Linked DNA regions of Homo sapiens: region 1 is linked to region 2. The links are contacts of gene promoters, found by promoter capture Hi-C in human tissues and cell types (Jung and others, 2019). All regions are on one chromosome and are shown on one strand. The core of a region is centred on a gene start or on the middle of the fragment in contact, and the rest is flanking DNA. Distances in the headings are between cores, read along the strand shown. Region 1 overlaps SLC22A23 (solute carrier family 22 member 23). Region 2 holds the start of TUBB2A (tubulin beta 2A class IIa).

Region 1 (6,337 bases), core at 2,412-4,911, 120 kb before region 2:
GAACAGGAGCCTCGCCTCGGGTGTTTCAATGTGAGATGGTAACGTTCACATGGCTAACAGCAATTTGATTCTGGAATCCTTAATTCAATGAAGTTTGCCATTTCTAGTAAGAAGTCGGCCTGCATATCAGTTTTCCTACCTTATTGAGATCCTATTGCTAGTAAAATAAAGATATCCCGTGGGTATTACAATTTTGTGCTCCTAAAGCCCAAGGAGGCAGTGTGCGCCCTCGGTTCTCTGTCCGTAAATCAAGCAGCTCTGACTTCTAAACACGGGCGTATGCTGCCCTCTAGTGACAACCCAGAGAAAAGCAGAAAAGGCACTGGCAGAGCCCACATTTCAGGGGCAGGAAAGGAACCCAACACCTTAAAACCAAGGATGTAACAATCTCTTTCTCTGAGATTTCAAGAGAGAAAAAAAAACAAAGCCAAAAATGGCATACCAACTTCTGCCAAAATTTTTCCTAATCGTACTGAATGATGTCAAGGATTTTTTTTTTTTTTTTTTTTTTTTTTTGAGACGGAGCCTTGCTCTGTTGCCAGGCTGGAGTGCAGTCGCGTGATCTCGGCTCACTGCAACCTCCAACTCCCTGGTTCAAGTGATTCTCCTGCCTCAGCCTCCCAAGCAGCTGGGATTACGTGCACGCGCCACCACACCCAACTAATTTTTGTATTTTTAGTAGAGACGGGGTTTCACCATGTTGGCCACAGTGGTCTCGATCTCCTGACCTCGTGATCTGCCCATCTCGGCCTCCCAAATTGCTGGGATTACAGGCACATGAGCCACCATGCCCGGCCATATCAAGGAATCTTTGATAGAAAACCAGAGAATTGCTCCCACAGAAAAAAATAAAAAGATATATTCCATATTATATATGCATGTGTACATTTGTTGCATATTATGTATATACATATACATAGACATTTTTCTAATGATCTGCAAATTAAATATATTTCATTTTATTTGGCACAGTTAACAAGATAGATCAGTATGATGTGGTTCACCAGGCACAATGCAAGGCTTTTGTTCCATGCAGTTTGCCCTTTAACAGTGGCCCTCTGCCCACCCCTCCTGGGGGTCTGTACTCTGCCCTCCTGTATGTGACTCCCGTGTGAGTAAGGGGAGTCCTCTCACTGCTTGTCAGTGCCGTCCACATTTAGTGCCGGGAAGGTCAGGCAGAAACCTGGGAGGTTTCCGAGAAAATGCTGTCCCCATTAAAATCATGTCCATTATCCCTAGCATCTGATATGCCCTGTGGCTTCCTGAAAGAGCCAGGTCTACCAGAAAGACTTAATTGGCTATTTTAGGTGTTCAGTCTTCATCTTACAGAAGGATTTGGTCTTATTGCTCATTTCCGTGGTTGTCTCTATTTAACCTGTCCCATTCACCTGGGTGAGCTGACCTTCCTATCCAGGAAGCCCGTGTGATCCGCAAGCATCCGGTATTTATTAAGCACAAACAGCACGTGCCTGTTGATGTCCTAGAAAATAATTCTTGCCCTTGAAGGGCTCAGAGACTAGTAAGGTGACAGGCACATGAACAAATAGTGACAGAAAGATGCAGAGTGTCTTTGAACGGTGGTCTGGGACCCTCAGCCTGGGAGGAGTTTGAGTATCTGGGAGACATCCCCCAAATTCTTGCTCTTCCTCATCCATATCGTCTTCAGGCCCAGAAGCACAGTGGTGTGGCTATTCCTGCAACTCTTTCAGCCTCTCCCTGGGAAGGGCTTTCTAATATGAAGTGCTGATGCCTGTCACAGCCTGCATGAGAGGTGGCTGTCAGTCTCCCTCCGTGGCTAAGGCAGGGGAATCTGTCACTCACCGAGTATCTTGGTTTTCTATTGCTGCATAACCAATCGCTCCAAAACAGGGGCCTGAAGTAGCATGCATCTACTATCTTATGGTTTCCATGGCTCCAGAGTCTGGGCACGGCCTGGCTGGGTCCTCTGCTCCAGGTCTCTCAGAGGCTACCATCAGTGGGTAGGGCCCACCACTAAACCAAGTCAGGCACTGGTAGGCTGTTTCCTCACGGGCTGTGGGGCTGGCAGCCTCAGCTCCTTGCTGGCCGTTGGCCATAGGGACCACAGTCACAAGGCAGCTCGCTTCGTCAAAGCTAGCAAGAGTCTGCTAGAATCTGCCTTTTGGAACCTTGTTGTGGAAGGAACATCTCACTATCCTGGCCGTAAATTTGATTGCTAAAAAGTACGTTATTTGTACCTTGTACCTTGAGGGCCAGCGCACACTCAAGGCACAAGGGTGGGAATTACTGGGGCCAGTCTAGAAATCCGACTATAGCACTGAGTAGATGCCCAGGTGCCAGCCAGGTCTCAGTGGCTGGGCAGGTGCTGGGGACAGCACACGGAGTGGAGCCTGGTCCTGCCCTGGAAACATCTGGTGTCTATTAGAGACACACAGACACGCAATGCGAATGTGTCTTCGGGCTACACAAGTGTCCTGAGGATGCAGGGGAAGTGCCCAAGAGAGCCTGCTCAGTCTGGACTCAGAAGGGTGGCTGGGACGGGATTCCCAGGATGTGGCCTGGAGCCCGCACATAGTGGCTCTAGAGGCGATGCGTGTTTGGCAAGTGCACTGCGGCGGGAGGAGGTGAGGCTGGATTCCTAGGGCTCGGGGAGCAGGAGCAGAGGTTCCTGGAAGGGTGAGGGTGGGCGGGTGTGAAGCAGCTTGAGGAGGCAGTGTTTGCAGAGCTTGGTGCCTCACCGAGAGGAAGGCCAGGGTGGAGGAGAAGGGTCCCAGTGGCACAGCCCCCTCTGCCAACTTTTAGGACTCCATGTCATGCCTGGAGGCTTTAGGCCCATGGGAGAGGCTCATCCTGTTCGCCTCCCAGTTCTTGAACCTCTCCAGCTCTGGTTCCTCCTACACCCAGCTGCCCCCTAGACCCTGAAAGACTTGGGTGGCCCCTTCCCGGCACTCAATGGATGCCACCTGGAACCAATCAAGCCACGGATCTTCCTGTCCCCATGCTAGTCACATTCGTGCTTTAACCTCCACTGCACTTGGACATTGGAGCTTTTCTCATCCCTGTTTTATAGATGCAGACCGAGGCTTCGGGAAGTGAAGCTGGTGGGCGGGGGCCAGGATTCTAGCCCAGGCTCATGGGCTCCAGAACTCCTGCTCCCAGCCACGGCACTCGCACCTTTGTGGCAGCAAAAGTCTGTTCTGTAGCTCACTTTGGGCTGGCTCTTTTTATGTGGGTTTACTCAAGGCTTGGAGGCTAATGGCTGATGCCCCAGTCTTGACAATCATCTAATGGAATAAACATTAACGAAGACCCTGTACCAGAAGGCATCTCCTTCCTCGAGAAATGCACAGACGGCGCCCTACCCAGGTAGCCTGTGGGAGCTCGGCTGAGCCAGCATAGGCCAACCTCACAGAGCGAGCACCAGACAGAGCTGAGGGACCCCGGTGCCATGAGTATTGGGACTGAAAGGCAGAGGACAGGAGGAAGAGGTGGGGCCCCCAGGACCTGTGCATCACCTTGCAGGCAGGAGGGAGCCATTGGAGGACTCTGAGCAGCCAGGTGATATGATTAGCTCTGTGTTCTAGGAAAATCGGTTTGGCAATGGTGAGGAAACAAAGTCTAGGGGGTGCAGAAGATGCGCCAGGGAGGAGCGCAGACCCAGGCGGCCTGGAGTGGAGGCCCTGAGGACTTGGTCATGGGCTGGACAGGAAGGAGCTGGGAAAGGGAAGAATCCAGCGAGTCTTTGTCCCCTAGGGCTGCAAGCCTGGCAAGGCTGCCCTTGTGCCCCCAAGCCCTGTGCCCATGGTGGATGCAGATGGGTGGACTGCAACCAACAGAGAGGCAGTCATTTCTACATTAGAGGGAGAAAAGGCAGAGCAAAGTGTCTTCTCTTATTTTGTTACAGGACAAAAGCCCCCAACACACACACACACACACAATCACCATTCTTCCATTGCATTCTGAGAAAAAGGCTCCAAATCTGTGAATCTTCCTGGGGTTATTAGCATAGACCTGTGTATATCTGGTTTATGAGGGCCACCTGGGAACCCTGGGACTCCCATCCTCCCTGCCCAGGTCACCTTTGCCCAAGCCTCTTTGGGCATGAGCCACTGTGTCTGGCCTGCCCATCTTTTTACTGGATTATCTGTCTTCTTTTTGAGTTATAAGAGTGGCGTGGTGGCTCACGCCTGTAATCCCAACACTTTGGGAGGCCAAGGCGGGTGGATCACGAGGTTAGGAGATCAAGACCACCCTGGCTAACACAGCGAAACCCCGACTCTACTAAAAATACAAAAAATTAGCTGGGCATGGTGGCACGCGCCTATAGTCCCAGCTACTCAGGAGGCTGAGGCAGGAGAATGACATGAACCTGGGAGGCAGAGCTTGCAGTGAGCCGAGATCATGCCACTACACTCCAGCCTGTGCGACAGTGAGACTCTCAAAAAAAAGTTCTTTATATATTCTAGTTACAAGTCCTTTATCTGATATATGCTTCACGAATATTTTCTCCCAGTCTATGGTCTTTTTTTCTTAAACATGTATCTTTTGAAGGGTAGGAGTTTTTAATCCTAATGAAGTCCAATTGATCAGCTTTTTCTTTTATGGATCCTACTTTTGATGTTATGTGTAAGAAATCTTTGCCTAACCCAACGTCATAAAGCTTTTCTCTTGTTTTCTTCTAGAAGCGTTATAGTTTGAGCTAAGTTAAGCACTTAGATTTTATTATCCATTTTGAGTTCATTTTTTTACATGATGTGAAGGGTCCAACATCATTCTTTTGCACATGAATATCCTGTTGTCCCAGCACCACCTGTTGAAAAAACTATCCCTTCCCCCTCACTGGATTTGCCTCCATCTACAGTCAGTTGACCATAAATGTGAAGGTTAGTTTCTGAACTCCCAGTTCTGTTCCATTGATCTATTGATATATACACCAACACCACACTGCCTTAAGCCGTATGGCTTTATAGTTTTGAAACTGGGAAGGCAAGCCTTCTTTGTTCTTTTCCAAAATTGTTTTTGACTACTCTGAGTCTTTTGCATTTCCATATAAATTTTAGAATTGGCTGTTTTCTGAAAAAAAAAAAAAGTCACCTGGAATTTTGATAGGGATTATGTGGAATGTATAGATCAATTTGGGAAAAATTACCATCTTTATAATATTTAGTCTTCTAATTCATGAACATGGAATGTCACTCCATTTATTTTTATCTTTTAATTTTCAGCAATGTTTTATCTTTTTCAGCATACAAGTCTTGCATTCCTTTGTTATTTATTTCTAAACATTTTATTCATTGGATGTTATTGTGAATGGCATTTTCATTTTTGGGTGTTGCTAGCACGTAGACATATAATTGACTTTTGTATGTTGATCTTTTATCTTGTGACCTTGTAGGACAGTCTTTTGGTGAGTTAGGAGCTACCTATAGTGCCAACCAAGAGAACCACAGACTAGTCAAGAGCTGGAGTTATCTACCTGCCTCCTACCTGTTGCAGGGACCTCCCTTTCAGCCCACTCAGCCTCAGCAGTTCAAAGGATACAGCCCTCTTCACTTCAAGGGGGTGCCTAACGAGCAGCCCATTAGAAAGCTTCCCCAAACCAAAGGACCAGTCTACCTGCTGCTGTGGAGCGAGGCACACAACTCCACTCCCTCTTCCTTGAGACAAGGCCACCTCTGCCTACCTCCTTCAATGAGGCCCCAGAACTGGGGACCAGGCAGCCCTCTCTAGCCTGGCCTGACACCTGAGCGCCACGGTCCCACTGCAGCCTGGTACAGCACTGCTTTCTCAGGGGCCACAGAACACCTTTGTCCCAGTAATGTGTTTTTAGGTCAAAGTGGAGAGGTTTGAGGGATAGGGGTTCTGTAAGTTTTGCGTATCTACTAATCCCTGGGACTCTTGGCTGCTCCCGTACAAGGCAGGGAGTGGAAATCAATGGCTTGCCTTCTGGACTTTGGTTATCCTGAGCTCAGAGCTGCAGTGAGTTCCTCTCTGTCAGTGCACAGCTTCATTTGGGGGACCCTTCAGGCACAATCCTCAGAGATGGGACCGTTTCCAATGGTGGTATGTGAGCAATTTCAGGAGACACGTGGGCCATCAACTCACAGTGAGGAAACTACTCTTTTAAAGTATCTTGCAGTCTCTCCAGTTATGACAAAGAGAAAGTCTCTGTTCGTGTTGGTATGTCCTTAGTACCCTCTTTAACCCTTGGTAATCCCCCAGGCCTTCAGGAAATGGCATAATTTCAATCCCTTTTGTTTTTCCTTGTATACTACTTATGGCAAGTAATATCAGCTTCCCATTTACAGTAGTATTATATAAGGCTGCCTTTCAAAATAAAGTTCTCATGGTCCCCAGC
Region 2 (6,645 bases), core at 3,648-6,147:
TGAGTGCTTTCACATATTCATTCAGTCTTTATCACAACCCCAGGAAGCGGGTACTATTATTACTGTCACTTTACAGATGAGGCAACTAAGGCAGAGAGAGGTTAAGTAACTTGCCGAGGTCACACAGCTAAGAAGTGACAGTGAGGATTTGCACCCAGTCCATCAACTCTAGGCCCTGTGCTTTTCAACAGTCAGGGAACGCGGCAGGAGGGCACTGAGTCCTCTAAACGGCCTTAGTCATGGGAAGCAGAGATGAGTTTGCTCTGTAGATAATTCGGTATGCTCTGGACACCTCAGATTATGGGGAGAATGACAGTTGGGAGTAGGTTACATATTTTTGAGAATTTGTGAGATTATGTCTAAGTCATAGCAGAAGAAGATATAGTATTTCTTCACTCTTAATGTTGAAGGCAAAAAAAAAAAAGTTATAAAGGAACAAAAACACCTAAACAGCCCATGAATAGGAAAAACACAAAGGAATATAATACATCAAGCATTTAAAAAAATCTCGAGAACAGGGGATACACTTGTGCTCTTTAGTACTTTCTAAGTGTTTCTAATTTTATAATCAGGAAATATGTATATAAGATATATGTATATATAATTGCTGTGTACATTGTATGTATTTAAAAAAAACTTGGGGGGTTATAGCTTAATGAGAATTTGACATCAAGAATAACATCTTTGAGACCAGCCTGGCCAACATGGTGAAACGCTGCCTCTACTAAAAATACAAAAATTAATCAGGCATGGTGGTGCACGCCTGTAATCCCAGGTACTCGGCAGGCTAAAGCGAGAGGATCGCTTGAGCCTGGGAGGCAGAGGTTGCAATGAGCGAAGATCATGCCACTGCACTCCAGCCTAGTCGAGACTCCATTTCAAAAAAAAACAAAAAATGACATCTTCAGTTTTGAAAGGCCCCAGATCGACACTTGTAATATGAATGTCACATTCTGGGGCATGGCCCATTCCAGAAAGTGGCTAAAAATCTTCTATATATTTACTCTGTATTATTATAGTCATCTGATGCAAAAAAAAAAAAAAATTGTAAACTTTGGTGGGGTTGATATTTTAAAATTAAATTTAATTGGAGTTCAGACTTTTATTTTAGGTAACCTTTTGAAAAGGTTACATCCCCTTAAATGCTTTGAACAAAATTCTTCCATCTTCATAAAGAGATGCTTTTATTTAAAAAATAGCAGACAGGGGCTGCACTGGATGAGTTTCATGGGAAAGAGAAGTTGGAGCGGAGAGTGTGGCTAGTTCTCTGAGGGCACAAACAGGATGCAAGACTGTACCATACAAATTTAGACAATTGTATTGCTGGGATGGTCCTTGGGTTTTCATCATTCTGCAGAGGAAACTAGTGTTTTTGAAGTTCCAGGACTCTCTTACTTGGACCAACTAAATCTATTTCAACTAGATCACGACTGTCACCCTTAGAGATGGCATCAGTGAACAGTAACGATATCATCATAACACCACATATTCACAGGGTACGTTTCACTAGAACATTCTCACCAGGACCCTTCTCGTTGGGCCCTCTGAAGCAGCAGGCGGGAAGGGCAGGCAAAAGGGTAAGAGCTTATGTCCTTTTGTGAAAGACAGATGTGGCTCAGCCTCCTACCTGGAACACATTCTCTAGTCTGAATTTTGTCATTACACCTGCCCTTCCCCGCCCCCCGCCCCTCACCCCGCCAATGATGCCTTCAGGGTAGGGGTGGCTCAGACACTGCGAGTGGCATCCTGTCTAAAGCAGGAAGTGACTTGAGGCTGGAGGAGGTTGGTCCTCTTCCCCTTCCCCATCCCCGGCCCACCCAACAGCCGGTGGAGCTGCTCCTCTTTAGACACTGAAAAATACATGAAAGGGGAGAGATTGCTCCTTAAAAACCTATTCTAGGGAAGGGGACAATTAGCAGGCTCTATTTCCTCCTGTTATTATCTGCATCGGTGCTGTACAAGGTCGAGTTGCTTAGTGACAGCGAGGTGGGGTTGGGGATATCTACACTTGCCGCGAGGGAGGGGAGAGCAGGAACTCACGGCCTCAGATGAGTCACCTTAGGCAGGGCAGGCATTATTTAAAACTCCGCGTGTGAGTTTCTCTGATTATATACTAACACACATCACGGGCGGCACCGAGGGAGGAGCGCGTCAGAGAGAAGTAGGCTGGGCGTGAACTGCCAGGCAGGAGAAGGCCGACTTGGGCAGAACATTCACTGCCAGCGATCCAGAGCAGACAATCAGGTACCTGGCCTGCGCCCGTGAACACTGCCATGGATTTATTTTCTGTGCGCTCACTAATGTCCAGTTCACGCACAGTGCCTCCCAGCTCCCCAACGTAAGAAAAACCCATTTCCAGAGAAGCTCAGAGAGGTGCAGTGACTTGCTGGAGGACTGAGCTAGGAACAGCAGAGTGGGCACATGCTCCACAGGCCGGGAAACGCCCAGCTGCTAGGGGTCCCCGTGTCCCTAGTGCTGTCCCTTTCAGGTCTCATCCTCTGCTCCTATTTGGCCTCAGATTTCACGCTGAATTAAAACACAAAGGCCAAGAAGCAATTATCTCTGGAAAAATCTTTTCAGAACTGTGTAATGAGTGAAGGTACCCCAAGGAGAGCCATTCTCTGGAGAGGATCTGGAAGGCTCCGGCTGTGGTGAAGAGCCAAGATGTGAGAGTTGGGGTGGGGGTGGGGAGAAGGTGGAGGTCAAGCCCTGGGTACCTGGGAGTAGCATCCGAGGGACAGGTTGTCCACTGGGGGCCCAGCAGCAGGGAGAGGGGAGAGAGGAGGAGAAATTCTAGGAAATCTGTCCCCACCCTGAGAAGAGGCACTAGGCACCTGCCTACCTACATCTGGGAGGATGCTGGGCGCTTCCTAAAGCTGGGGTGATTAAGACCTAACTTGGCCTAAGAGGCTACTCACAGACATCTGGCTTTAGTTTCCACCTCCGATACAGACCAACTATTGAGGTGGCAGGTAGGGTGCACATTAGGAATGACAGCATCATCTTGGGTTTTTTGTTGTTGTTTTTTATTGAGACGCAGTCTGGCTCTGTCGCCTGGGCTGGAGTGCAGTGGCGCCATCTCGGCTCACTGCAAGCTCCGCCTCCCGGGTTCACGCCATTCTCCTGCCTCAGCCTCCCGAGTAGCTGGGACTATAGATGCCTGCCACCAGGCTCGGCTAATTTTTTTGTATTTTTAGTAGAGACGGGGTTTCACCGTGTTAGCCAGGATGGTCTCGATCTCCTGACCTCGTGATCCACCCGCCTAAGCCTCCCAAAGTGCTGGGATTACAGGCGTGAGCCACCGCGCCCAGCCCATCACCTTGGGTTTTACCAAGGCATTTTTACTCCATAAACTCAATGTGCTTTCATATATGGCTTCTCATCTCCTACCACAAAGCCAGCTCCAAGGCACCTGTAATTATCATCATTATATAGTTGGAATGTGCTGGGAACCAAAGGCAGTCCCCAAGCCCCTGTTACCTAGTCCACCGTGCAGGGCCATCTTTGTGAATAATTAAGTCAGGTCCTTACCACAGCCCACCCAAGCCTTTAAAACTCACCTGGGCTTTTTATTTATACAAAGGCTTTAGATTCCTTCCCTTCCTAGCTTTGTGGCTGGTCAGGTCTTTCAACCTCGCTTTCGGAGCTATGAAATTGGGGTAGTAATAATGCTTACCAGAAGCCGGTGGTAGTCAACAAAAATATGCGTAAGTGAGCAGCAAATGGAAACCAAGTATGTAATTTTACATTTTCTAATTTCAAAACAAGTCATTTAACACAATGTATCCAAAACACTATTATTTTGATAGACCATCAATATTTAAGAATCAGTAATGAAATATTTCACATTATTTTAACTTACTGAGCCCATAAAAGCCAGTGTGTTCTTCACACTTAACAGCCCATCTCAGTTCAGATTACCTACGTTTCAATGCTCGGCAGCCACCGTGCCTAGGGTCTACCGAACTGGCCAGCCTAGCTCCGACAGCTTCTGTGAGGATCAGGCGACCTAAGGGGTGTAAGGGGCAGGGCCATCAGCTGACACATCAACGTGGCAGATATATTCCTCCTGTCTTTCCTCTCTGACACACACACACACACACACACACACACACACACACACCCGCAGAATTTTCCACATTTAAAAGGCCTTTACAAGGACGCAGGAGCCCAAAGCGGACATGTGACAAATCCAGCCCTTTGATAGCCCCCCCAACCCCCGCCCCCGACCAAGCCATCTTCCTCCCCTGCAGGGGCGAAAGGCCGCCCACCCCGCCATCCTGGCATTCCTTTCAGGCAGCTGCCCGTCGGCTCCCCGCGGCCCCCCACTCCTCTCCACGCTGCCCACCCCACCCCCACAAACGGCGTCCAGGACCCTGCCCAGGATGCGGGAAACCTTTGCCACCCGCTGGAGAGCCCACTGCAAATGGGTCTTCAATTTCCGGCCCCCTACTCCAAAGGGTACTCGACGCCTCTTCCCGTCCTTAGGAGGCGAGGACCCTGTTCCGAGGCAGCCCCTCCCCCTGGTTCCGGGGCCCCCGGTCCCCAGCCCCCCTCGGGGGTCCAGAGTGGGCGGCTCGGGGTGGGGATCGCGGCGTGAGCGGAGGACCCAGCGCCAGGGGTCGCCCGTGCCCGTGGATCGGGCAGGGGGCTGCGGCTGGGCCCGAGGCCCGGGCACCGCACTCACCGCCGGACCGCGAGGCCGGCCGCCCACCCTAGACCCAGCGGCAGCAGCAATAGGGCGAGCGCCCCCACACCTCGCACCGCGCCCCGGCTCCCCCTCGCGGTGCCGCAGTCCCAGCCGCACCGCCCCCGCGGCCACAGCCCCGCCCGTCATGACGTCACCGGGCAGGGCGGGTCCCCGGGTATAAAAGACCGAGCTGGGGGGGCGGCGGCAGGTCTCTGCGCAGCCCAGCCCGCCGGTCCACGCCGCGCACCGCTCCGAGGGCCAGCGCCACCCGCTCCGCAGCCGGCACCATGCGCGAGATCGTGCACATCCAGGCGGGCCAGTGCGGCAACCAGATCGGCGCCAAGGTGGGCTCACCGCCACGGAGGGGCCCGGGGTTGGGACCGAGGGTGCGGGCTGGGGCCGGGGCGGGGGCTGGAGGCCGCGGCGGCCCCGGGCTGGCCGGGTGGCACATTCCGCGGCGAGGCCGCCGGGCGGGGTCCGGGAGGCTGCATGACCCGCCAGGATGCCCGCAGCGCCGCAGCTGTGTGTGCGTTTAATCGGGGGCCTTTCGATTTCCCTGGGACACAGCCCTTCTGCGGGACGCGGTTGGCATTCCCCTGGGTGTATTTGTCTCAGAAACTTGGGTCGGGGGTACGGTCATATTTATTGCGCTAGCTTCATGTGAATTTAATTTGTATATTTTTCTCTACGGTTTGAATGAAAACATGCAGTGTCACTGGACTGGCAGATGTAACAGAGGCGTCCCTTTGGGTCGTACAGGCAAGGGTGTTAGATAAATTCCCTTGCTCGGGCACTGTCTTGACATGATGACATACAACGCGATAGTCTTGCTGCCAGTCCCCGAGGCGGCAGGTGACTGCGCTGGGTGGGGGCTGCAATTACCGACCGCTGTGTGGGAGGCAGCAGCGGGTCTGGTGCATGGGTGGGGGCGGGCGCCAGTACAAGGACGTGGTCTCTTTGAGAACCGCCATGTTGCCCACCCAGCCTCCCCGCCGCAAATTCACAATGCAGCCAGCGCCCTCACGATGGCCAGCTCCTTCCACTGCCGCCCAGGTGCCCTCCCAGGCTCCTGCTGCCCTTCGCCCAGTCCCTCCGGTGGTCAGTGCCAGCATGTAGATCGGTGGCTTAAACCTGCACTGTTGCAGGAGTGCCTGGGATCTGTGCCAAGAGAGCTTGATCCCTGGAGGCAGCCACAGAGTGGGTCCCCCTGTCCTTGGCCTGCCACGACCCATCAATCATCCCGGATGCAATGGCATTCAGCCCTGCCTGGGGTGACACAGCCTCCCTGTACCCCTTCTCCACTTCTCTACTCTCCCCACCCTCTCCCTAGAAGGGCATCTGCTGTGTCCCCTCCTCCTCCAGGGCCCCTCCCAGCCTTTCAGTCTATCCCCATAATATGGCCGATGCTCTGCGGATTTTCAAGCCCCTCAGCAGCGGCTGCTGCAGGAAATAGGGGGTGCAGCTCTTTGCTCTCTGTCTAGCACTTACTAACTGTCTGACCACAAAAGCCCCTGTTCCAAGGACATGGGAGGAGGACAAGGCCATCCTTAGTGACATTCAGGATGCAGAGCCATGGTGTGGTTCTTTTTTCATTTCAGTTTTGGGAGGTCATCAGCGATGAGCATGGGATCGACCCCACAGGCAGTTACCATGGAGACAGTGACTTGCAGCTGGAGAGAATCAACGTGTACTACAATGAGGCTGCTGGTGAGTAGCGGGATGTGTGTGCCCAGGAATCCTTGCTTTCCATGATGTGGGAGATGAAACGTCCCAGGAACATGCACGTGACAAAGGCATGCTTCTTGCATATTCATTTCAAATGCCAACTGCTGGAAAAACATGTTTTATGGTTTCCTAAGATTCCTGCCTGTTTGCCACGGCTAAGCACACTCAGGACCTCCTTTTTCTTAAAAGCAGAAAATCTCCTGTTCTCCTTTTGTCTCAGATGCTGGAAT

What was found. Contacts are between HindIII fragments. The study calls those that stand out against the background at their distance.
Region 1: a contact is called between a fragment that was not itself captured here and the fragment with the promoter of TUBB2A in region 2, in 3 of the 25 tissues and cell types used here (dorsolateral prefrontal cortex, hippocampus and pancreas).

What each region holds. Positions count from the first base shown.
Region 1 is chr6:3,273,689-3,280,025 of GRCh38, reverse strand. The region is part of intron 9 of SLC22A23 (solute carrier family 22 member 23); the gene reads left to right. Among named protein-coding and RNA genes, the nearest start is that of PSMG4, 18 kb to the right of the region's middle. RefSeq lists an enhancer at 346-405. The HindIII fragment of the contact is 4,641 bases long and covers 1,341-5,981 here.
Region 2 is chr6:3,155,796-3,162,440 of GRCh38, reverse strand. It overlaps TUBB2A (tubulin beta 2A class IIa), which reads left to right and starts at 4,897. Exons shown (of 4, transcript NM_001069.3): 1 at 4,897-5,034; 2 at 6,289-6,397. The coding sequence starts at 4,978. It overlaps LOC105374889 (a long non-coding RNA gene), which reads right to left and starts at 4,740. Exons shown (of 2, transcript XR_926395.3): 1 at 4,688-4,740; 2 at 3,005-4,009. RefSeq lists a cis regulatory region at 1,699-2,293 and a silencer at 4,556-5,015. The HindIII fragment of the contact is 12,624 bases long and covers 1-6,645 here.